Regions from separate parts of the Homo sapiens genome. Here regions 2, 3, 4, 5, 6 and 7 are each linked to region 1. The links are contacts of gene promoters, found by promoter capture Hi-C in blood cells and fetal thymus (Javierre and others, 2016). All regions are on one chromosome and are shown on one strand. Each heading gives the region's core, a stretch centred on a gene start or on the middle of the fragment in contact. The rest is flanking DNA. Distances are from core to core; before and after follow the strand shown. Region 1 holds the start of CCDC70 (coiled-coil domain containing 70). Region 2 overlaps SERPINE3 (serpin family E member 3). Region 3 overlaps INTS6 (integrator complex subunit 6). Region 4 overlaps INTS6 (integrator complex subunit 6). Region 5 overlaps INTS6 (integrator complex subunit 6). Region 6 overlaps INTS6 (integrator complex subunit 6). Region 7 overlaps NEK3 (NIMA related kinase 3).

What was found. Contacts are between HindIII fragments. The CHiCAGO score rates a contact against its expected background, and 5 or more counts as called.
Region 2: a contact is called between a fragment that was not itself captured here and the fragment with the promoter of CCDC70 in region 1, in 2 of 17 cell types (erythroblasts and total CD8 T cells). The highest score is 6.1, in erythroblasts.
Region 3: a fragment that was not itself captured here is called in contact with the fragment with the promoter of CCDC70 in region 1 in 2 of 17 cell types (non-activated CD4 T cells and total CD8 T cells); the score reaches 5.9 in non-activated CD4 T cells.
Region 4: a contact is called between a fragment that was not itself captured here and the fragment with the promoter of CCDC70 in region 1, in 5 of 17 cell types (total CD8 T cells, total CD4 T cells, monocytes and 2 more). The highest score is 7.6, in total CD8 T cells.
Region 5: a contact is called between a fragment that was not itself captured here and the fragment with the promoter of CCDC70 in region 1, in 3 of 17 cell types (naive CD4 T cells, total CD8 T cells and total CD4 T cells). The highest score is 6.4, in naive CD4 T cells.
Region 6: a fragment that was not itself captured here is called in contact with the fragment with the promoter of CCDC70 in region 1 in 1 of 17 cell types (total CD4 T cells); the score reaches 6.1 in total CD4 T cells.
Region 7: a contact is called between a fragment that was not itself captured here and the fragment with the promoter of CCDC70 in region 1, in 4 of 17 cell types (megakaryocytes, erythroblasts, total CD4 T cells and 1 more). The highest score is 6.6, in megakaryocytes.

The regions. Positions count from the first base shown.
Region 1 is chr13:51,860,199-51,863,423 of GRCh38, reverse strand. CCDC70 (coiled-coil domain containing 70) reads right to left here and starts at 1,455. Exons shown (of 2, transcript NM_031290.4): 1 at 1,195-1,455. It also overlaps a transcript of TMEM272 not described here. RefSeq lists an enhancer at 654-1,853. The HindIII fragment of the contact is 6,103 bases long and covers 1-3,225 here.
Region 2 is chr13:51,361,069-51,364,293 of GRCh38, reverse strand. SERPINE3 (serpin family E member 3) reads right to left here. Exons shown (of 10, transcript NM_001386375.1): 8 at 2,930-3,016; 9 at 2,401-2,484; 10 at 1-55. The coding sequence ends at 12. INTS6 (integrator complex subunit 6) reads left to right here. Exons shown (of 18, transcript NM_012141.3): 18 at 1-2,717. Among named protein-coding and RNA genes, the nearest start is that of MIR5693, 14 kb to the right of the region's middle. The HindIII fragment of the contact is 3,328 bases long and covers 116-3,225 here.
Region 3 is chr13:51,385,613-51,388,837 of GRCh38, reverse strand. It overlaps INTS6 (integrator complex subunit 6), which reads left to right. Exons shown (of 18, transcript NM_012141.3): 7 at 1,298-1,452. Among named protein-coding and RNA genes, the nearest start is that of MIR5693, 39 kb to the right of the region's middle. The HindIII fragment of the contact is 3,264 bases long and covers 1-3,225 here.
Region 4 is chr13:51,404,492-51,407,716 of GRCh38, reverse strand. The region is part of intron 4 of INTS6 (integrator complex subunit 6); the gene reads left to right. Among named protein-coding and RNA genes, the nearest start is that of INTS6, 47 kb to the left of the region's middle. The HindIII fragment of the contact is 1,096 bases long and covers 927-2,022 here.
Region 5 is chr13:51,425,440-51,428,664 of GRCh38, reverse strand. All of the region lies in intron 4 of INTS6 (integrator complex subunit 6), which reads left to right. Among named protein-coding and RNA genes, the nearest start is that of INTS6, 26 kb to the left of the region's middle. The HindIII fragment of the contact is 8,376 bases long and covers 1-3,225 here.
Region 6 is chr13:51,446,453-51,449,677 of GRCh38, reverse strand. All of the region lies in intron 3 of INTS6 (integrator complex subunit 6), which reads left to right. Among named protein-coding and RNA genes, the nearest start is that of INTS6, 5.0 kb to the left of the region's middle. The HindIII fragment of the contact is 3,998 bases long and covers 1-3,225 here.
Region 7 is chr13:52,131,850-52,135,074 of GRCh38, reverse strand. It overlaps NEK3 (NIMA related kinase 3), which reads left to right. Exons shown (of 16, transcript NM_002498.3): 15 at 1,260-1,386; 16 at 1,849-2,428. The coding sequence ends at 1,933. It overlaps LOC101929657 (a long non-coding RNA gene), which reads right to left. Exons shown (of 2, transcript NR_110306.1): 1 at 3,018-3,225; 2 at 2,352-2,617. Among named protein-coding and RNA genes, the nearest start is that of NEK5, 4.4 kb to the right of the region's middle. RefSeq lists an enhancer at 1,525-2,724. The HindIII fragment of the contact is 576 bases long and covers 1,180-1,755 here.

The sequences.
Region 1 (3,225 bases), core at 206-2,705:
GCTGCTCTCTGTATTGATCTTACCCTCTCATCTGCCCCTGCACTGTAGCCCTACAGGTGTTTTCTAGAACACTCTCTCGTCCTATCACATCAGTTCACACACCTTCAAAGACCCTGTAGCCCAAAGATCAAAGCTGAACGCCCTAGGAAGGCCTTGTGCAGCCCAACTCCAGCTTGCTTCTCCCTCTCCTTCCTACCCAGCCTGCACCCAACTCCAAATCTAAGGCCCAGTATTAACGGGCTCTATTCAGCTCTTGGCACTCTGCCTGCAGTTTCCTGCCTGTGTGGTGAAGCACATGTCGCATCCTCTACTGAGAGCCCCTTTTGTTCCTGTGGTGGGCTTGAATTCCTGTACATCCTTTCCCCTCTGAAAGCTACTCGGACCCTCCAGACAAAGTTCCTCGCCACCTCTGCGATACTGTCTGTCTGTTACTCCACTATTACTTGTCACACTTGATTGAAATTAGGTGTGGACATGTCTTCCTGACATCTCTGTAACCCAGCAGCTATCATAATATAACGCCGCCTATATAGGAGGGAATTGGTGAAAATGTTGGTTGAATTGAACTGAATTGAACTGCATTTTGGAAATTTGATTTTCTATGTTGTATGGCTCTTTGCCTAGAATCCCTCCAATATGTGAAGTCCTCCCTCACTTCCATGTCATGCTGGCCCCCTCTCCCTGGATATCCTTGCCCAACCTCACTTCAGTTCACCTAGCGAATCCTTCAGCACTCAGATACCTCCTCCAGGCCATCTCTCCTAAGCTCAGACTGAGCATGTGCCCTTCCTGTCCCACTAGAAACACCTCATCTTCCATCTCTATGTCTGGCATCCAGCGAAATGTTCTGCCACAGGATAGGTGTTCAGGAAATAGTAGCTGGATGAATGGGCGTCTACTGGGTTAGGATGTTGGAAAACATTCACCTCCAAGTTTTTCTCAAGTGAACACTAAACTTTCTTTAAGAAAGAAAGAAAATAAGAACCATATCAAATAGGTAGATGTGTATTAAAATATAAAGTACAATATAAAACTGTAGATGTGTATCTGTATAGCTGTAAAAACATGCACTAAAGATACATGCCCAGTTTTCAGTTATACTGTAAGACTAGGAGCTTCTTTTTAAGGAAAATATTATATATTACCTTATGCTTAGAACAAATACTATACAGTCTAAAGCCAACAGTTACTTACTGCTTAGCTGCTTCCCACTGGGGTAAGTCCTGTAGCCCTCAGAGGGGGCAGGCGGCCATTGTCATGTCAGATCCCCAGTGATGCGTGCTTGCAGGCTTGCCCCAACAATGCTGGCAGTGACCTGTCTGTGCCCTTTCAGTCCTGACTCACAGGATGGAGATGGCCAAGAAGGGGACCCCTATAAAAGACTTTAAGGAAAGGAGGGGGCACTTGAAAGGTTTGAAAGAGTTCCTCTTCAATCTTTGACTTCACTGATAGGGCAGTGCTGTTGATGACTCACAAGTGATTGTTACCTTAGATTCTGTCAGCATTGGTTCCGGGAGCATGGTTCTAGGAAGTCATGTTCTGGTGGGGGCTTTGTGTGGGATGAATCACTTCTCTTGCTGCTTTCCAGATTCTTCGTCTTTGGCTTTTGATAGTTTGACTATGATGTGTCTTGGTCTTGAGGTTTATTCTACTTGGAGATTGTTGAGCTTCTTGGATATGCAGATTTGATGCCGTTTTTCATCAAATTTCAGAAGTTTTTGGCCATTATTTCTTCAAATATTCTTTCATCCATTTTCTCTGTCTCCTCTCCTTCTAGGGCTCATATTATGTGAATACTAGTAGCGTGAGTGTGTCCCCCAGGTCTCTAAAGTTACGTTCATTTTTCTTCATTCTTTTTTCTTTCTGTTGCTTAGATTAGATAATCTCAATTAACCTGTTTACAAGTTCATGGATTTTTTTCTTCTGTCAGTTCAAATATGCTGTTGAATCCCTCTTTAATTTTTCATTTTCAACTCCAGAATTTTTGTCATGTAGTAAAATTTTTAAATAGTCAAGTAAATTAACATATCCATCATCTCATATAGTTACCCTTTTTTGTGCACTGTAGCAAGAGCACCCACAATCTACTCTCTTAGCAAAAATCTTTAATACAGTGTTATTAACTACAGTCCTCATGTTGTACCTTAGATCTCTAAATTATTTATCCTATATATCTGCAACTTTGTACCCTTTGATTTCCCTCTTCCCGTCCACTCCCCACACGTAGCAGCTGCCATTTTATTCTTTGTCTGTGTATTTGACTTTTTTCTTACTTCTTCTTTTTAATTTTTTTAATATTCTACATATAAGTGAAGTTGTGCAGCATTTTTCTTTCTGTGTCTGGCTTATTTCACTTAGCATAATATTCTCCAGTTTCATCTATCTTGTGACAAACGGCAGGATTCTCTGTTTATGACTGAATAATATTCCACTTTATATACATGCTGCAATTTCTTTATCCATTCATCTGTCAGTGGACCCCTAGTCCATCCAGAATTTCTCCAGAAATTTTCACTGTGTCTCCAGAATTTGTTTGGTTATATATAGAAAAGGATATATGTGCTTTTCTATATACATATATATACACACACACACACACACACACTTCTATATATATATTTTTTCTATATATCTATATAAAAGTATATGTATACAAAGTGTGTGTGTGTGTATATATATATATACACACACACATATATATATGTATGCACACATACTTTTCTGTCTCTTTTTGGTAAGGCATAGTTTTTAATTCTTTCCTTTAATGCTTTTTTTTTTTTTTTTTGAGACATGTTTCTGTCACTCAGGCTGGAGTGCAATGGCATGGTATGATCTTGGCTAACTGCAGCCTCAATTTCCTGGACTCAAGTGATCATCCCACCTCAGCCTCTCAAGTAGCTGGGACTACAGGCGTGCGCCACCAGACCTAGCTAATTTTTTGTGTTTTTTTAGAGATAAGGTTTCTCCATGTTGCCCAGGCTGGCCTCAAACTTCTAGGCTCAAGTGATCTACCCATTCGGCTTCCCAAACTGTTGGGATTATAGGTGTGAGCCATCACACCTGGCCTTGTTTTCCTTTAATTCTTTTGGAATGGTTTCTTTTAGTTCTTTAACTACATTTGTAATAGCTGACTAAAAATCTTGGTTTAATCGCCCAATATCTGCAATTCCTCAGAGACAGTTTATAACCAAAAAGACAATTACTCAGAGAATAACAGTTTCAGGC
Region 2 (3,225 bases), core at 530-3,029, 500 kb after region 1:
AGAACATGCATTTAGTCTAGGGGATTTGAAACTCTCCCAATACTGAAGACAAACCCTGTCAAGAAAAAGAAGAATTTAATATTATATAGTATTTTCATATGCAGTTCTTTAAGCTTTGTTTACTTCTATACAAATACTTTTAAGTAATGCAAGATAACATTTAATAGATGGAATTGTTAAGGTAATTGCCTGTAGTCACATTGCTAAATTCATTGAGAGTTACACAAAATCCAGAATATATTGTCTGTTCCTAAATTATATATATTTAGATTCTGGAATTACTAGGAGGAATTAGAAGTCATTCAGATAAAAATTCATACTTAACAAGAGTATCTAGGAAAGAGATTCAGCCCATCCCAATATTGAGCAGCTTTCCTTATCAGAAAGTTTTATTTTCTGTTTCACAGATTGCTCATGACCTTTAATACATTTTTCTGAATGAACCCTGGAGGGAGGTGAGAAGTAGCAGTTTTGTTCATCTCTTCTTTTTGTCCTTTATCTCTCTGCCACTGTTCTCACCTCATCCTAAAACCTGGTCAGGAGGGTTTGAAACCTATCAGAACTAAAGGTTAATATCTCATCTCCCTCAGGCTTTTTTCATTTAAAAAAAAAATGGGTATATTAGTTAAATTAGAATACTTGTTGTAGAATTATTGTCAAAGGGGAAGGGAAATACATCTAGGGGAAACATCATGTCTTTTAGGCCCTTTATGTCACTGAATGACTTAAGGCTCGACAAATGATATTCTTGGAAAGTTTAATCTTGAGGTTTTCAAATCTTTTTTTTTAATGTCTCCCATGTTTCTCATTTGCTGATTGATTCATTAGTTGCTCTTAGTAAGATTTGTCAGTTGGAAATAATGAAGGCTGAGACTCATTTCTAAACTCTTCCATAACCATCACCAGAAGAGCAGCCACTGTGTTGTGTGATGTAGGCTAATGCCTCCCAGATAGAGGTAAAGTCACAAGGACTATTAGAATTCCAGTGGATTGTGGAACTGGTTTTGGATTATCCTTATATTTTCATTCTGATTACTGAGGCAGTTCTGAAAACTCCTACCATTGAAATAGTGGTGTGTCTTTTCCTTGTTTAAGGATTTTACATCATTTTTATGCACTTGAATTCCAAAATCAGAATCTCTCTTTTACCTATCAACCTTTATTGGCTATTGGCTTTTGGCAATGACCTTTCTGTTCAAATGTAGTCCTGTCTCTTTGTTTCCTTAGGGAGTAGAACCTGTCCTTTTTCTCATCTTTCATTTTTTTGACGTGTCCTTTCTAAGAGAAGGCTCTCTGCCGCCTGTTCTGGGTGATAAGTGATATTTTCATCTAATCGTTATGTGGTTGGGATGATCATGGTGAAATACTAGGAAGACATACTCTGTTGATGGACTTTTTCTCTCCAAATAATCCCAAATAGATTATTTTCTAGTGAATGGTTTATATCTTTCTCGTCACAAAAATGTTCCTTTGATTTCTAGCACAAGGTACAGCAGGATGCAAATGATTCTCAGATAAAATGATGTTGACAGTATTTCCTTAACAATTTATGTAAAACTATGCATAATTTTCATTCTAACTTTTGACATTTTTCTCCATAAATAAAAGTAATGCCTGATGTTTAGTTAAAGTAGATCCACCTTTGCTTGATTTTATTAGTCTTGTTCTATCCTATTTCTTTTTAATACACTGTTTAGACTTGCCAACAACTCTTAACTGAGAATCTCTTTTCCTTCCTAGGCTAAGTAATTGTGAGTGGGGGAGGAAGAACATTAAGAGAAATAATCTAAAGACTTTGTTCAATATTGTCGAAGCCTAAGAATATTTGTGTGTCCTTCTGATGTACTGAGGCTTTGCCGGTACCACACCATCTTTGGATTACCATAAGGTTATGTAGTAGGACTTAAAAGTACTAGGGCAAACATTTGATTTTTGAGAAAGATCAACAGAACAGTATAGAAATCCAGGTGCATTCATTAGAATACTAGGATCACAAGAGGACTACTCTGGTGTACTCTAGTGACCTGAAAAAACTCTAAAATGATAAGAAAGCTAGGGGACAAAGGGAAAAAAGGGCAAGATTTATAATTTATTTTACTTTCATGATTTTTCCAAGTGTCTTCAGAAGTAGAAACCTATAGCATTAAAAAAAAAAATCTACATTAACTATATATGAGCTGAGAGAATGAGAAGGTAAAAAACATGGAGGATAAGTTTCCTTTGTACTTACGAAATAGTCCCCTTTCTTAGGATAGAAGATAGCAACTGGGTAGCTTCTGAAGCACCATAAAAACAGCTAGAAAGAATGCTTATTTTTGAGGGGATAGTGGACAAATGAGCCCTTGTTGCTAGAGAGACACTGATAAATTATCTGAATCCTGTCAAAAAATACTGTAATACCTGTGTTAGGTTCTCTCAGGAAATAGATGAATGGCCGATCTGCTTTAAAAATAGGAATCCGAGACCTTTTCAATAACAACAGAGCTGCAGGAAAGAAAGAAAAATTCCATTGCATTTTCTGTGCATTTTTAAGAAAATAACTATTGGTTATGAAGTAAGTTAATTTTTTAAGAAATCAAAGCATCCTAATGGCATTTGATTGTTTACTGTTGTGATGGGGGTGCAGATGGGAAAATTAAAGAGAAAAGATGCCATTTAGCCAATCCTGTCTCCTGTTTTCAACACATTCCATGGAATAAATTCCTTATTGAAGGTAACTTTCAGAATTATTTTTATGGGATGGATATCTCTTCTTCCCCGTCATTTTTCAAAAACTTTTTGTTTTCTTTAGTGTTCCTTTTTAAAAAATACTACACCACACCTGAACTTGGGGGTTATGGAAAGATTCAGAAGTGTGAAGATTCAACTAGGTAAATTTCAGAAAGGTAGATATGGGTAAGCAGTGTGACTGGGTATTCTCTGAACATACCTGTGGCTCCAGATGCCTTGGTGCCTTCCTCCAAAACTTCAATCTTGGCCTTGTGGATTGCTTCAGAAACATAAAAGCCATCTTGGCCTAACCACAGAAAATGATAAAAATGTGAGTTGCTCATTAACATTTTTCTAACACATTTAGAACACATTCTTTAAAAATGTACTTACAAAATTTATAGTATCCAATGCTGCTTACTGTGTAGCTAGGGAAAGAGTGGAAAATTCTGTTTTTGTTTTTACTGGAGGCTCAGGTAGCTGTTTGGAAAATTCTTAAGACTCAATATGTTACCA
Region 3 (3,225 bases), core at 360-2,859, 470 kb after region 1:
TCCCACCTGGCTTTTTCTTGGCTTCTGTAATCATGAACTATTTCCAATAGCCAGTGGATATAAGGAGTTATAGTAGAACCAATGGATGGTTTATAGTTGAGACCCTCTGCATTGTATGTTACCTATTTCAAGATTTAAGAGTCATTGCTGGGCACGGTGGCTCACACCTCTAATCCTAGCACTTTGGGAGGCCAAGGTGGGTGGATCACCTGAGGTTGGGAGTTTGAGACCAGCCTGACCAACACGGAGAAACTCCGTGTCTACTAAAAATACAAAATGAGCCAGGCGTGGTGGCGCATGCCTATGATCCCAGCTACTCGGGAGGCTGAGGCAGGAGAACTGCTTGAACCCGGGAGGTGGAGGTTGCGGTGAGTGGAGATCACACCATTGCACTCCAGCCTGGGCAACAAGAGTGAAACTCCATCTCAAAAAAAAAGAAAAACAAAAACAAAAACAAAAAAAAACAAAACACACACACACACAAAGATTTAGAGAATCATTTAATGATAATTGGCAGAGGTGGTCCACTAAAGTAGGTACCTGGGAGAAGAGAAAGATCATAGAGATGAAAGAATGGGGGCACTGAGAGGGTACTATAGGGAAGGAATGGGTGATAACAATAAGTTGTGTCATGTCTGCTTTAACGAAACCAAACTTAAAAAAATTTTAATTGTTACAGTGTATTTATTTTAAATTATTTTAATGCTTTGTTTAGAGTTTGTTACTAGTAAATGTTTACTGGATTGTTGAAGATAGTTGCTGTTTTGCTAAAATTATTTTAGATTAAAGGTAGGTGCTTTGGTCTAGATTTGCTTATTAAGTTCTTTTTTTAGGCTTCGGTTAAAATGATTTCTAAGAAATACTCAATTTGCAGTACTTATTTATTCTAGTATTTATTGTGTGCCTGGCACTGTTTTTGACATTTGGGATATGATGATAAAGGTGGCAAATTGGGTGCTTGCTCTTATCATCTGATGAAGAAAACATGCCATTCATCAAACAGATATTCACCGTAAAGTATGTTTTGTGTGTTCCAGTTGGGAAGGCAAAGGATGCTGCGGACCTCCTTTGAACTGGCGAACTCATAGTTGGAATTTGTACTTATTGTCTAATGAATTACAATCTAGTCTAAATATTCAGCAGACATAGTGTTCTGCCATTTAAGAAAAATAGGAAAACCTGGAAAAAGATATTAGGAATTTTTTATTAATTTAAGTAATAATTGATATAATTTAACTTTTTATGCTTATCCCCCCTTATGATATATGCTTTCTTTGTCTTAATTTCTTTGCTATAGATGGGCAGCCAGATATATCAAGGCCTTTTGGATCTCAGCCTTGGCATAGCTGTCACAAACTCATATATGTCAGACCAAATCCTAAAACTGGGGTTCCTATAGGTCATTGGCCTGTTCCAGAGTCTTTTTGGCCAGATCAAAATTCGCCAACACTAGTAAGTACCAGAGACTGTAACTATGTAATAGTAACCATTCAGCTGTCTTTCCTATTAGTTTCAAATTCTGTTGTCAAAGCTGTGATTAATTTATGGGGATTAGACAGATGTTCAAAGTGCTATGATACCCTGTTACTTGCTTTATTATGTTGCTTTGCTATGATAACCCTGTTACTTTGTTTATTATGAAGTAATAGAAAAAAGGCATCTCCTTCGTTTAGAATCTAATACTATGCTTGCGATTTTTATTCTTGGCTTCTGGGTTCAAAATTTCCTCTTTAGACTCTAAATGAGGATTTGTCTCTGGGACACAATTTAGGATTTAAATGAAGGCTTAGAAAATAATTTTGATAGTTTGCCTGCAATTTTTTAGGACTTAGTCTTAAATTCATATTGATATGTATGGTTTTAGTTATATACAGTGTTGCAGATTGGAGGTTTAAGCTAGAACAGATTTTCTGATTTTGTTTACCTGAATTATTTTTAGGAAAAATGAAGTTTGCTGAGCGATCATGGTGAATTATCAGTATTCATTATATAATTCTTAAAATAATAGGGTACATTTATACAAATTAATATCCATTTAGTCGTGTTAGTGTACTCTTTTTTTCCATATTTTTTTTCTAAGTATCTGAGGGCATTAAGGGATATTTTGTGGGAGAGCATGGCAGTGGTTCTCCTTGATTTTACCTTTAGAAAATAAGAATTGTATTTCAGAGATCATTAAGCAGTCTAATAATGTTTGATACAACAAAACCTTTTTGAAACCTTTTGTACTTCAAACCTGTATCAGCTTTTCAGGATAATTTTTATTTTGAGTTTATAAAGTGATATTTCCTTTATTCATTAGGGATTTAATAAAGTAGTGCATGAAGTTAAGGTTTTCTAAATTTCATTGAAGTATCTTCATTATACCTTTTCTTTTTTTCTGATAGAACCATCATAGTTTTTTAGTCTGGCTTTATGGAGAAACTTCCAATTTCTTTGGTCATTTTACTTTCTTTTCTGGAGCTCTTTCAACTCTTACAGAACAGATACCGTATTTGTATGAAATATTGTCATGTTGGTTATTTATTCTATTTATTTAACATGTACAGGAGAACATACAGTACCTGAGTTGTAATGGAAAGAAATCCAAAACCAGTATCAGAACCCTTATCTATTAATGCTGCTCTAGCAGTCTATCACAAATTCTTAGAAGCCATAGAGGGTAGGTAGGACTTCAATTGGAGAAGGAAATAGTATGAGAAAAAAAATATGGAAGTGAAAAAGAACAAGGTATGTTTAGAGGAGTAACAAGTAGCTGAGTACGGGTGGATCATAACATGTATATAGGACATTGAGAGTACTATTAAACTAACCAAATTGCTTATGACTTTAAATGCAGGGTTAAGGAATATTAGCTTTTAAACAGTGGAGTTCAAAGAGCAGTCGAAGATGTTTTTAACAGACATCTTTAGAAAAATTGATTTGGTGGTGGTTATATGCAGTAAAATTAGAAGGGGAGATGAGTTGAAAGGCAGGTAGGTTACCTATGAGGGCTATTGATATGGTTCACGTAAGAGATTTTAAGTGGTTGAATTATGATGATGGAAGAGAGAATAATAAATAATATTGGAAAGAACTGGCAAACTTTAGTAACTGAAGGATATTAGGGGAAGTGAAATTTTTATAAATTACAATATTGAAGAAATATTGCTACTGAAGTTAAGTGTAATTTACAAGATGTGAATTTGAATCACGGCACTATTAGTTATTAATTAGTACCTTTGG
Region 4 (3,225 bases), core at 225-2,724, 460 kb after region 1:
CTATTTGGAACTTAGTTTTGTAGTCTTTTTTTAAAATCATACTTTATTATAGTACCTTGTTATCATTTTGAATATGTTAAATCAACACTATAATAGTTAAGGTAGACAGAACATTAGGACATACCGTATTCTATATTTTTTCCTCTGTATTTGGTATCAGTCCCTGGATTTTTGCTTTTATGAGTCTGTTTCTTTCATTCCTATTATTTTTGTTATCAATCATCCTAGTGCTTTTTTAAATGATTGTGTTAGCTTTCTAGCTTGTCTTGGCTGCTTTCAGTCTGTCCTGCAGGTTGCAAAATTATTTTAAAGCATACCACTTGAGTGTATTACTCTACTGTTCACAATGTTTCATTGCTTTCCATTGTCTACTAGGTTGCTCAGTGCCCTTCACAACTTAGCCAGTCACATTATTTATTCATCCATCCATGTATTCATTCAGCCATATTTATTAGGTTCTATGAACCAGACAGGATGGAGGAATATGTGCTATGAGAGCTTATAATGAATTAGATCTGGTCAAGGAGGTCATTGGAGAGCCAAGATCTGAAGAGAGTAGGATTTGTTACTCAAAAAATAGAAAAGAGGATTGTACCAGACAGAGGGACTAGCATGTACAAAGGCTTTTTTTTTTTTCCTCTGAAAGGAATATATTTTGAGAATGAAGAACTGAAAGAAGGCTACTGTGGCTTAGACACAGGGGTGTCCAATCTTTTGGCTTCCCAGGGGCACATTGGAAGGAAGAACAATTGTCTTGGGCCACACATAAAATACACTAACACTAATGATAGCTGATGAGCTAAAAAAAAAAAAAAAATCACAAAAAAATCTCATAATGTTTTAAGAAAGTTTACAAATTTGTGTTGGGCCACATTCAAAACCATACTGGGCTACATGCAGCCTGTGGACCACGGGTTGGACAAGCTTGGCTTAGAGCATAAAAGAAGAGGGATCGTAGTACAAGATGGAAAAGAAGGTTGGACTTGACCATACAGGGGGCTTCCAGACCATGCTGAGTAATATTATTAATATAAAAGCAATAAGAAGCCATCCAAGGGTTTTATTTAGAGGTAGGGGGTGGAGGAGAGGGAGATAAAAGTGGTCTCCGTTGGAGCATTGTTGTTTAGTCTTGACAATAGCTTGGTCAAGGAGGTTGGTGATGGCAGAAGAGTTTCAGTTTCAAGAGATACTTAGGAGGTTAAATCAGTAAAACCTGCTGACATATAATGCAGTTGGGGGTGTAAGAAACAGGGAGGAGGTGACGTAAGAAACAGGGAGGAGGTGGTTATCCATTATTCGATAAATGATGCCATTTTACTGAGTTAGGGAATATTGGAAGAGGACCATTTTGGGTAGAGGAAAATCTTAAGTTCAGTTTTGAACATGTTTAGTTTGACATACCCTTTGAGCCATTCAGGGGGGTGTGTCATGAGGCAGAATATTTGGTGCTCAGAGAGAGATAGAGGCTCAAAATACAGTTTTTATTATTTGATTATTGATAGGAATTGAAGCTGTGAGTAGTAGGGTTGGGGGTTGAGACTATACATTGGGCAAGACCTAAGACTGATTCTTGCGGATCTGCAGCACTTACTAGTTAGGTATTGGAGATTGTGTCTAGGTTAGGGGTGAGGATGGAAGGCAGTAGCAGCCAGAGGAGAGAAGGAAAACCATGAAAATATTTCAGCATGAAAGCCAAAGGAAGATTCCTTTCAAAAGACTGGGAAGTAGTTTTGAATGCTGCTTGGAAGCCAGATTTGAAAATCTCCAATGGATTTAATGACTCAAGGAGAGATCTGCTGCTGTGTAACAAGTCATCCCAAAACTTAGTGACTTAAAACAACAGTTTATTATTTCTTAAGAATTTGTGAGTTTGTTACATAAGCCCCAGGCTTATCCAGGACTGGAACGTACAAGATGGTCTTATTTATATGTCTGGGGCTTTGGTGCTGCCAGTTTTCTGGGGGACCTTGCTTCTCATCTCTGTGGCTTCTGTCTCCATCATTTAGTAGCATAATTCAAGCTTTTTTACATGGTAGCCAGCTTCCATGGAAGTGGAAATAAGGCTGCTAGGCCTAGTAAGACTTAGACTCTGAATACCTTTGAGTGCTTCGGAGTACTGTGCCATCTACCAGAGTAACCAAGCCAAAACAAAACAAAAACCCATTGATGACTTAGTGTAAGAGTTGTTTATGAAAAAAAAATTAACAGTAGGGAAATCCAAGAATTGATAGGCTAAGTATAACTCCAAAAGACAGATACATTGAGAGGACTGGGGAACGAAGAAAATTTCCTAATTATTCCTCTGCATTTTCTTTAAGCTTGACCTCAACTGGGCTGCTGATTTCCTGAACACTTCCTCTTTCTTTCCTCATGTACTCCTTTTCCCTGGACGTTATTTCTCTATCTCCCTATATTAAAATCCAACCCATCCTTAAAGGATTAAAGGCTTTCTTAAAAATCTTTCTCTCCTCCTTTGCACTGTATTCTCCACCAGTTCTGAAGTTTAATTTAGTTTTCATCCCAGTATTTATTATTATTATTTCTTGTCTCCTATGTGTTTGATCATGATCTTCACTCTTCATTACTCCCTAACTTGCATGAGGTTCTGGATTCTCAGTAAACTTATTATTCTTCACACTTGCTCAGATGCTACTTCCTCTGAGAAGTCTTCCCTGGTTTGTCCCCTAATCATTTATTCTTTTGTACTTTATGCATATTTTTATTGTTGTACATATCATAACACATAATTGTTTACTTACATGTTTTTGAAAGTAGAAGATTACAATGTGTAATGTGTTGCCTTTCATTAAATAAATCCTGAGTTATAGCTTGATTTCTGATCCCTATTTTAATTTTTTTTAAAAGTCCCCACATGTTGACAATAAAATGTGTATATTTATCATGACCTAATTATTTCTTTGATACTGTGCTGAGTTCATTGGTACTAGGCCACTGCAGTAAACGGTAAAGAAAAGTTATGATTTGGTATATGAAGTTAAAAATTACAAGAAATAATATATGGTCAAGTTTTTTATATCTCTTAATAAGGCAAGAATGAATATATGAGGTTATGTTTCATGTGGGCCTCAGTGGAAGTATGTACATATGTAAATTCTCAGTATACATCTTATACATTGAGCTGGATGGAGTGTTTGTTATGGTGCCAGCTTATGGAATATGTGTTTTTCCACACCTTGTTCAAGGTGTCAGGTAGGCTTTGCAGCT
Region 5 (3,225 bases), core at 436-2,935, 430 kb after region 1:
GACGTGGATTATATAAAAAGCAAGCAATAAAAATTCATTTTAGCCGGGCGTGGTGGTTCACACCTGTAATCTCAGCACTTTGGGAGGCTGAGGCGGGCAGACATGAGATCAGGAGTTCAAGACCAGCCTGACCAACATGGTGAAACCCTGTCTCTACCAAAAATACAAAAAAATTAGCTGGGCGTGGTGGCGCACACCTGTAATCCCAGCTACTCAGGAGGCTAAGGCAGGAGAATCACTTGAACCCAGGAGGTGGAGGTTGCAGTGAGCTGAGACCGTGCCACTGCACTCCAGCCTGGGCAACAGAGCAAGACTCCGTCTCAAAAAAAAAAAAAAAAGAAAAAAAAAGTCATTTTAAATTTGAAGCTCTCAAATTAATTTTTCTTCTTAATAGGACACATAATAGTTAACAGCTTCATTCAACTTTATATATTAATAAATTAAAAGTCTTTTGAATGTTTGTTTTGTTTTTATCCATAATGATTTTGCTTGAGAAGTTATTTCTGTTTTCTGTTGTAAAGTATTCTTATGTGCGAGGTGATGCATTTGAGGTGCTGTCTACTGCCTTTGTAGAAATGCCCTTTGGGGTACAATGTATTTTGTTTCCATATGTCTGGATCTGTTTTGTTTGTAAAATTTGTTTTGTGGAGACCTCTTCTAGCTTAAAAATATCTTGAAATATACATGTGTATTGGAATTGCTCACCTTTCTTCCTATGTCTTTCCTTGGGAAGGATTTTGGAAAAATAGGGCAATGTGTTTATAACCTGAAACTACCTTGCTAGTAAGGTTAGGAAGATTTTCCTGTGGGCAGAGTTTTTACCTTTTAGTTCTATCTTTTACAATACTAGCATAGTATTGACAACAGAGCCTATATTTTTAAAAAGTATTGATTATAAACATTGGTGTATTGAATCTGGTAGTCATTGAGTTCAAAATTGATTACCGTTGCACCTTATTATCTGAGGTGGAAGGTTCATTTGTTTTAAAGCAAAAGTAAATTATTTTGAAGTTGGAACATAGGCCGGTGAGTTGTTTCAAGGTTAGGAATGTCTTTGATTCCCTGCGTGTTTTCTTCTTAATGTACCAACGAGACTCTCGTTGGAGCAATGAGAAAGTTATCCTAGATTAATTTTTGCTAAATGTTGTGAGATATTGTGAAATATTCTAGCCTAAATAATTATGGGATTTGTTTTAAGGAGCTTTTCAATTCATAGAAAAGCATAAAGATGCTTTTTGTATTGTTCTTCTGTGTTTGTATTGTGCACGTGCATGAATGCTAGATATGATCTGTATTCTGGTTCCTACTAGGGAATAACAATTTTGCCTTTATATCACTGTCTTTTCACATCTCTCAACCTTTGCCTCTGGCAGAACTTGATTCTTTTTTAGATTTATTCAGTGTATGAATGTGTCATTAATTTCCACATTAGAGATATGTGTACATAATTCCTGTTTGGCTTGTGGCTGGTGTTGGTATGACCTATTACTTTTTATGGAGTTGTATAATTCCACCTGTATGATATCCTTTGCTTAAGAGTCATGTTATCCAACATTGTATATTATATCTGTTCTGTTGGTGCTGTTTTTCAGGAGTAAATGTTCTTGCTGCTTTAAAATCATCCTTATATCATATGAGGAAATATAGAACTCATTTAGTCTTATATTTTACAAATGAGAAAATTGAGATCCAGGGAGTCAGAGTGATTTGCTTAGGTTATAACATTTGTTACTGCCAAAATCTAGATTAGAATTTATCAATTCCAAAGACATTCCAGCACCTCCAGACCAGTGCTTTCTTCCTGATACGGCTGCTGCCTTTTTGCTTGATTCTAAATTTGTGTGTTCTTAAAATTTACCTTCTATTTATCTGATTTCTTATTTGTCTACTTCAGCTTTCTATGTAAGTGTCTTTTAGGTATTCTGTTCTTATTCAGTGTTCCATGAAAAACTATTATGACCAGAGCATTTCTAGGCAATGAGGATAACAAAGATAAACAGGACATATCTGGTTCTTAATATTTAAGTTCACAGTGTTATGGGGGAAATCACCTATTAAATGGTTTTATGAATGATAAAATAAGGATACATACTAAGTGTGTGGGAGTACTAAAGCAGGGGAAGGGTTAATATTACCTTTCGTGTGTCAAATCTTGTATAATGTGCATTTTTATAGTATAATTTCATTTTTGAATGACTGAATTCAAGGATCTTATGGATGATTTGGCATAGGGTGTGGCTCCTACCTTGTATCTGTGAATTTTAGGAAGAAGCCCAGTGTAAAGTTGTTTTGAGCCTAGAAAATAGTTTTCCTAGCGGCAGGAAAAATGTGGTGCCATATTGTCTCTTGACCTGGCTAAGTATGTATAGGCCCAAATGAACCAATTTCTTATAACTTGTTTGTCAGAAAAATGTAGGAATACTGTTCTCTGGGACAGCTCGTCACTTAGCAATGTGTTATGAGTTAGGAAAGAAAAGTAATAGATACATTATGAATGAAAATCTTGAGCTGTATATGATCATTTTACATTAATTTATGATTTCAATTATATCCTTGGGCCTCATTTAATAAAAGTCCAGGCCATTGTCTGAAGTGTCATGAATGTATTTCTAGTGTAGTCTTTTTGGATAACTGTCTAGGATTTCTGATGATTACTTGGATTGAATTTTATGTGTATATATTTGGCTTTTTTTTTAATGCAGCTATTTGATAAAACTGGTTGTAGCATTTTCACTTACGAGGAGTGTGTTTGATAGGACTTTGAATTCTGAAACACGATAAAACTATATTACTTACTTCCTTAGTAGTTACCGTTGATGTTGATAAACATACCTGTGTCCAGATACTCAGTACTGTTTGTCATGTTATATAACTGATATATCAAATGTTTTGGTAGAATCAACAAATTAGAGTTATTGAAAAGGATTTTCTTCTGATATCTGCAGATAATCCTCTCTAGTACTGCTTTGCAATGGAAAACTATTCTGTACTATGATTCCAGGAACACATGGCTAATGAATATTGCTCAATAGAGGAGCCCAGAAGAAATCCTGCCAGTACTTTCTTAGTGATGAATGACATTCCAGGATAGTGTAGCAGTTATTTTTCTCTTCCTTGAAAGTGCTAATAGTAGTATTGTCTTTCAAATATTGAGATTTCTATATGCTGACAAGTCCTTCTGCATCTCTTTACCAATGTTATGATTGCTGTGGAGGCTAACGTTGA
Region 6 (3,225 bases), core at 435-2,934, 410 kb after region 1:
GGTTTTCATCCTTACCTCTTTGAGTTCAAAGAGATATTTAAAACTTGCCATTATTTGGTTACCTTTATTTGGTTGTCATGTTGTTAGTGTATGGCAGAACTATTAGTTTCCTCTTTTTCTGCATCACATTTCATAAGTGGTCAAGGCATTTGGACATATTCACCTCCTATTACCTATTAAAAATACTTCTTAAAGATTGCTTCCTTCGAAAAACTGCTTGTCATGGAGAGGCTGAGGACATTTGTAATTTAAACCTGTATTTTCCTTTTCCCAGTTGATATCTGCCCCCAGAGAACACTTTAGTTCTTGTCTATAAGGCTTACCAAAAGTTTGCGGGAAAGGTGGTCCTGTGCTGTTACCACTTTGACCAAGAGAAGAACCTGGAGATTGGGATGTTTTTGCATGTCAGGATTTATTAATTCAATAACAGAGAGGGATGATGCTTCTCACTTATTCTGATGAATCAGCAAAGATTGCAAAGCATAATATTAATGCTTATGTCTTGAATTGGCACATTAAAAATGACACTAGCATTAAAATAAGCCACTGTTTTCAAATGAAAATGATAATTTGAGTAAAGAGTATTGAATTGGAAGAAAACATTCTTCCAGAAGATTTTTTTCATCATAAAACTATCTGATTTAAACATTTCATGTTTTCTATTCACAACAAGGATAAATGATTAGGAATTTTGGATGTCTCAAATATTTAATACTGAATATTGTTCATGTGTTTTCTTCTTTGTAAAAGTACTTTGTATCTGCCTGTTTGCTGTGGAATACTTTTATTTTGTAACTTCAATGTCTTTACATAAGTATTTCCCCTTTCCTGCTCTATACTAGGATCTGTGGTGTTCACAGTACTAAATACTTGTATGTAACGTTAGTAGTTGAAGGAAATGAGAAAAGATTAGGTGGAAGATAGAACGTATATATTTTATAGAACATCTAAAAACTTTAATGTTCTGAATTACTTTCTTAAATGTCTGGGTTAATATATATATTTGTATATTTATGTAGATATCCACCATTCTCCCACATATATGCACATATATGATTTTTCATAACTAATTACAAGACTATTAAATCTATATTGCATTTGTTAACTTAGTTAACATACCTACAGATAAAACATCTTTGAATTATTAGCTAGGATGCTATCAGAATTTGCAGGGCATTAGTAAGGTTAAGTAACTGAGAAAAAAGAATGGTTCTTAGTGAATGTTTTCCTCAAGCACTTTGGGTATCCCACTAAAAAATTCCATGCCTACAGACATTGTTATAAATATTTAATTTTGATAATCAGTACCATTTACTGATATTTCTACAGTAATGGAGCAATGTATAGCCTTTAGTCAATCTTTTCCTTTATAGCAGTACTTTAAGTTGCATATCATTGCAGATAAATTTGATACATAAGTTTTTCACGTGTGTTCAACAGAGTTTCAAATAATGCTGATCCTTTGAGACCTGCTGAAAGTCTGAAGCAGCCTTAATATCTAAAATTAGGAAATGTATAAAATGTGAGAGGTCTGATTAAAGTTTTATATGTAGATGAGTTAATTTTCTTATTGTTACAGGTCATCCTGTTTTCCATCAATATATATGTATATTTTTTTTGAGACAGAGTTTCTCTCTTGTTGCCGAGGCTGGAGTGCAGTGGCGCGATCTCGGCTCACCGCAGCCTCCTCCTCCTGGGTTCAAGCCATTCTCATGCTTCAGCCTCCTGAGCAGCTGGGATTACAGGCTTGAGCCACCATGCCTGGTTAATTTTGTATTTTTAGTAGAGACTGGGTTTCTCTATGTTGGTCAGGCTGGTCTCGAACTCCTGAACTCAGGTGATCTGCCCACCTTGGCCTCCCAAAGTGCTAGGATTACAGGCGTGAGCCACAGCACCCGGCCCGATATTTTCAACATTGTCTTTTTTTTTTTTTTTTTTTTTTTTCAGTAAATTATGTTAGTTAAGATTAGCCAATATATCTTTACTCTGGCCTGCAAGTCCGTTTTTGTTACTGACCTGATTCCACACCCCTGCTACCTGAAGTATGTTAGTACTGATTAAATTGTTCCAGGAGTTAGAATGGCACCTTTCCTACTATGTGCCCTTGGTGAAGACAATCCTTGACAGATATCTTAAAAGGAGATAAAATATGTGCTTAATTTTTTGAGGATTTTCTATGGTGAATGTTTACCTCATTGAAAAATGGTGGCTTTCGTACAATATCAAATTTAATGATTCTCAGGGAAAAGAATTTTAACCAATTTTATTTTTGAGCATAAAGGTCTATTTTGTAAACTTAGGAGATAATACAGTTATAGTTCTAATACTACTTTTTTTTCCCTTTACCTAAATAGTACCCATTTAATAGGTAGTGTGAAATACAGGCTTCTTTTTGAAGGCTGGCAGGTGAAGTAGTGAGAACTCCATTTCCATTTGGGTGCTTGGTTTCTCTTAGATTATCAACAAATGTATGAATAAGAGTTTGATATTTATTAAGCTATAGACATCTTTTCAAATGAAAGTAAGTTAATTACTATACCTGAAATACTGCTGTGTTGAATATAAACTGGAAACACAATGATGAATAGTATTTTGTAAATTTTTTAATTCCTTTAATTAAAATTTTTTTTTAAATTGTGGTAAGAAACACCTAACAAAATTTACCATCTTAACCATCTTTAAGTGTGCAGTTCAGTAGTGTTAAGTATATTCATATTGCTGTGCAACCAATATCCAGAACTTTTTTATCTTGCAAAATTGAAACTCTATATCAAGTAACTCCCAGTCCCTGGAAACCTCTATTCTACTTTCTGTTTTTATGAATTTGTCTACTCTGGATATCACAGTTAAGTGAAATCATACAGTATTTGCCTTTTTAGATGGGCTCATTTCACTTAGCATAATGTTCTCAACATTCATTTATATTTTAGCATGTCAGGATTTTTTCATCCTTTTTAAGGCTGAATAATACTCTATTGTATGTACCACATTTTGCTTATCCACATATCCATTGATAGTCACTTGGGTTGCTTCCACTTCTTGGCTGTTGTGAATAATGCTGCAATGAACATGGTTGTGTAAGTAACTTTTTGAGATCCTGCTTCCAGTTCTTTTGGATATATACCCTGAAATGAAATGACAGGATCATATTGTAATTCCATTTTAAATTTTTTGAGGAAGTACCATACTGTTTTTCATAGCAGTTGTACCATTTTACGTTCCTAC
Region 7 (3,225 bases), core at 218-2,717, 270 kb before region 1:
AGCCATCTTGCTAGGTTAAGATCTAAGATAGATTATACCAAGTAGAGCATGTAATGGTATGGCAAGTCTGACTCTATTTATTGCAACGATGTAGTTGTATTTATTTGGTCAGTATTTATTGAATGCCTAACAAAGGTTAAGATAAAAAAAAGAATAAAACACAATTCCTGCCCTAAGGATGAAGGAGTTCTTTACGTGGGAGGTCAGCACACTGATAAAGAATTATAGTGCCCTGTGATACATGCATTCAGATAGAGCTGTGCACAAAAGATCATGGAAGCCCTAAGGAGAGGCTAATGCATGGGAGGAAAATGTTAAGGAAGTTTAACGGTTATGAATTTCAATTTTGCAATTTTAGGTCCTGGATTTTGTGTCTGGTCCAGTGATGAAGTCTTTGTCATTTTAGGAAAGTCCCTGTTTAAAAAATATGTCATAGTGCTATTTTGAAATGCCTTTTAGAAGATTCGGCCCATGTTTTTAGGTTAGGTTTTCATGCTGTTTGTGAAAAATCTAAAAGTAATTATACCTGGAAAATTTTTTTAAGCATGCATGTGGTCTTCCTTCAGTTCCCTACTTTTCTTCCTCCCCATTGTGAAAACTTGGGAGGAGAAAGTTCAAAGGAAAAAAGAAATTACTATAACCCAACTTCCAAGGGTAACTTTTAATGCCTTAATATACATTCTTATATTGGGAGGGTTTTATGGCAATTTTCCGAGTTTTTTTTTTCTCTTAAAGAAAATCCTGTTTATAGGCTAGCTGTGGTGGCTCACGCCTGTAATCCCAGCACTCTGGGAGGCTGAAGCAGGAGGATTGCTTGAGCTCAGGAGTTCAAGACAAGCCTGAACAACATAGCGAGACCTCGCCTCTACTAAAAAAATTAGCCAGGCATGGTTCTGGACACCTCTAGTCCCAGCAACTTGGGAGACTGAGGTAGGAGGAGCTCTTGAGCCTGGGAGTTCGAGGCTGCATTGAGCTATGATCATGCCACTGCACTCCAGCCTGGGTGACAGAGTGAGACCCTGACTCAAAAAAAAAGAATAAAGTACTGTTTATAAATTTAGTCCACATCCCAGTGCTTCTGCTTCAGGGGCCTGTTTTATGCCTACAATCATGTTGGGTAATGTGGGGAGACACTACAAAAGAGTTATGGGACATGGCATTGTCCTCAGCCAGCAAGCTTACGGAGGATTTTAATCAAACTGCATGAAATAAGTAAATACTGTTTAAATTGGTATATTTTCTGTTAATATCTCCTGAAGGTTCAGAAGGGTTCTTGAAAGGCCCCCTGTCTGAAGAAACAGAAGCATCGGACAGTGTTGATGGAGGTCACGATTCTGTCATTTTGGATCCAGAGCGACTTGAGCCTGGGCTAGATGAGGAGGACACGTACGTTGTGATATGCATAGAAAGCTGTAGCTGGGGTTGGGGGTGTGTGTGTGTGTGTGTGTGTGTGTGTGTGATTTAAATTAGACCATGATAATTTCAGATTTAGTAGGGACCTCTTATATTACTTTTCATCATAAATGGATATTTATATCCTGATCTTTTGTCTGGGATGGGTAATGCCTTACAATATGATTATAAAATTCCTGATTGAGCCCTACACCTATAGCCTTTCAGCTTGGACTTGTTATTTTTTAATATATTAGGATTTATATTTTTAAAAGTTTTAGAAACAGTCAAAGAAGTGATCTTTTGGAAGAACTGGCAATTTTTTCCCTTCAGTTGCCTTATGGAACTCAATTTTCAAAAGCTTAAGTATTGTTATGGTGGTATTCCGCTTTGAACTCATCAACAGATACTGTGCCCCTAATGTAGAGGTTTATGGTCCAAATTGTTTTTTCACAGGGACTTTGAGGAGGAAGATGACAACCCCGACTGGGTGTCAGAGCTGAAGAAGCGAGCTGGATGGCAAGGCCTGTGCGACAGATAATGCCTGAGGAAATGTTCCTGAGTCACGCTGAGGAGAGGCTTCACTCAGGAGTTCATGCTGAGATGATCATGAGTTCATGCGACGTATATTTTCCTTTGGAAACAGAATGAAGCAGAGGAAACTCTTAATACTTAAAATCGTTCTTGATTAGTATCGTGAGTTTGAAAAGTCTAGAACTCCTGTAAGTTTTTGAACTCAAGGGAGAAGGTATAGTGGAATGAGTGTGAGCATCGGGCTTTGCAGTCCCATAGAACAGAAATGGGATGCTAGCGTGCCACTACCTACTTGTGTGATTGTGGGAAATTACTTAACCTCTTCAAGCCCCAATTTCCTCAACCATAAAATGAAGATAATAATGCCTACCTCAGAGGGATGCTGACCACAGACCTTTATAGCAGCCCGTATGATATTATTCACATTATGATATGTGTTTATTATTATGTGACTCTTTTTACATTTCCTAAAGGTTTGAGAATTAAATATATTTAATTATGATTTAGTAATGTGTGCAGTTTTTCAATATGACCTGATTCTGAGTAGTTTGAAGATCATTCCAATGATCTTCACCAACTACCAGCTGTCCTTAAATACAGTCCCTCATAGGATGCACAAAAGAGCCTGGGTTGGAGGGTCAGCCCTGGGAAGCTTGGGGTGGTCTGCAGATCTTGTCAGAAGATGGCAGTCCTGTAGATGAGGAAGGAAGAGGCCAGAGGTGAGGAGCAGTTAATGGTAAATATCAGAAACTAGAGAGTGATGTGGAACGAATAGGAGGAGGCATGGCGCACACGTGCTGGGTCCTGTCGTGTGTGAACCTCATCTAATAGTGTGCACTTCAGTGAGATGAGAATATTTCACTAAAGAAACAGGCTTCGCTCAACACCTCTCAAAGAGACGTGAGCCAGCCAAATACAGGGAACGGTGCTAAAGTGAAGAGTAGGGGGAAAATACATTTAGGGTCATTAACAAGCAGTTGCTGAAATCTGGAATATATACATCTTTTAAAGATTTAACAGTTTTTAAATCTTAACATGTAAAACCTGTGGTATAGAACCAACCCTCCACCTCACACATACGCTGTATTTACATTTAGATATCTTTCATCTCCAGTGGTCTCTGGCAGTCTCTAAATCTTTCCTTGTTTTTCGGGACCTTGACATTTTTGAGTACTGCTTAGGTATTTTGTAGACTGTTGCTCAATTTGGGTTTGTCTCACAATTGGACTAAGCTTATGGATTTTGGGGAAAATCACAAAGGTGAAGTGCCCTTCTCATCACATCATTTCAGGGAGCATC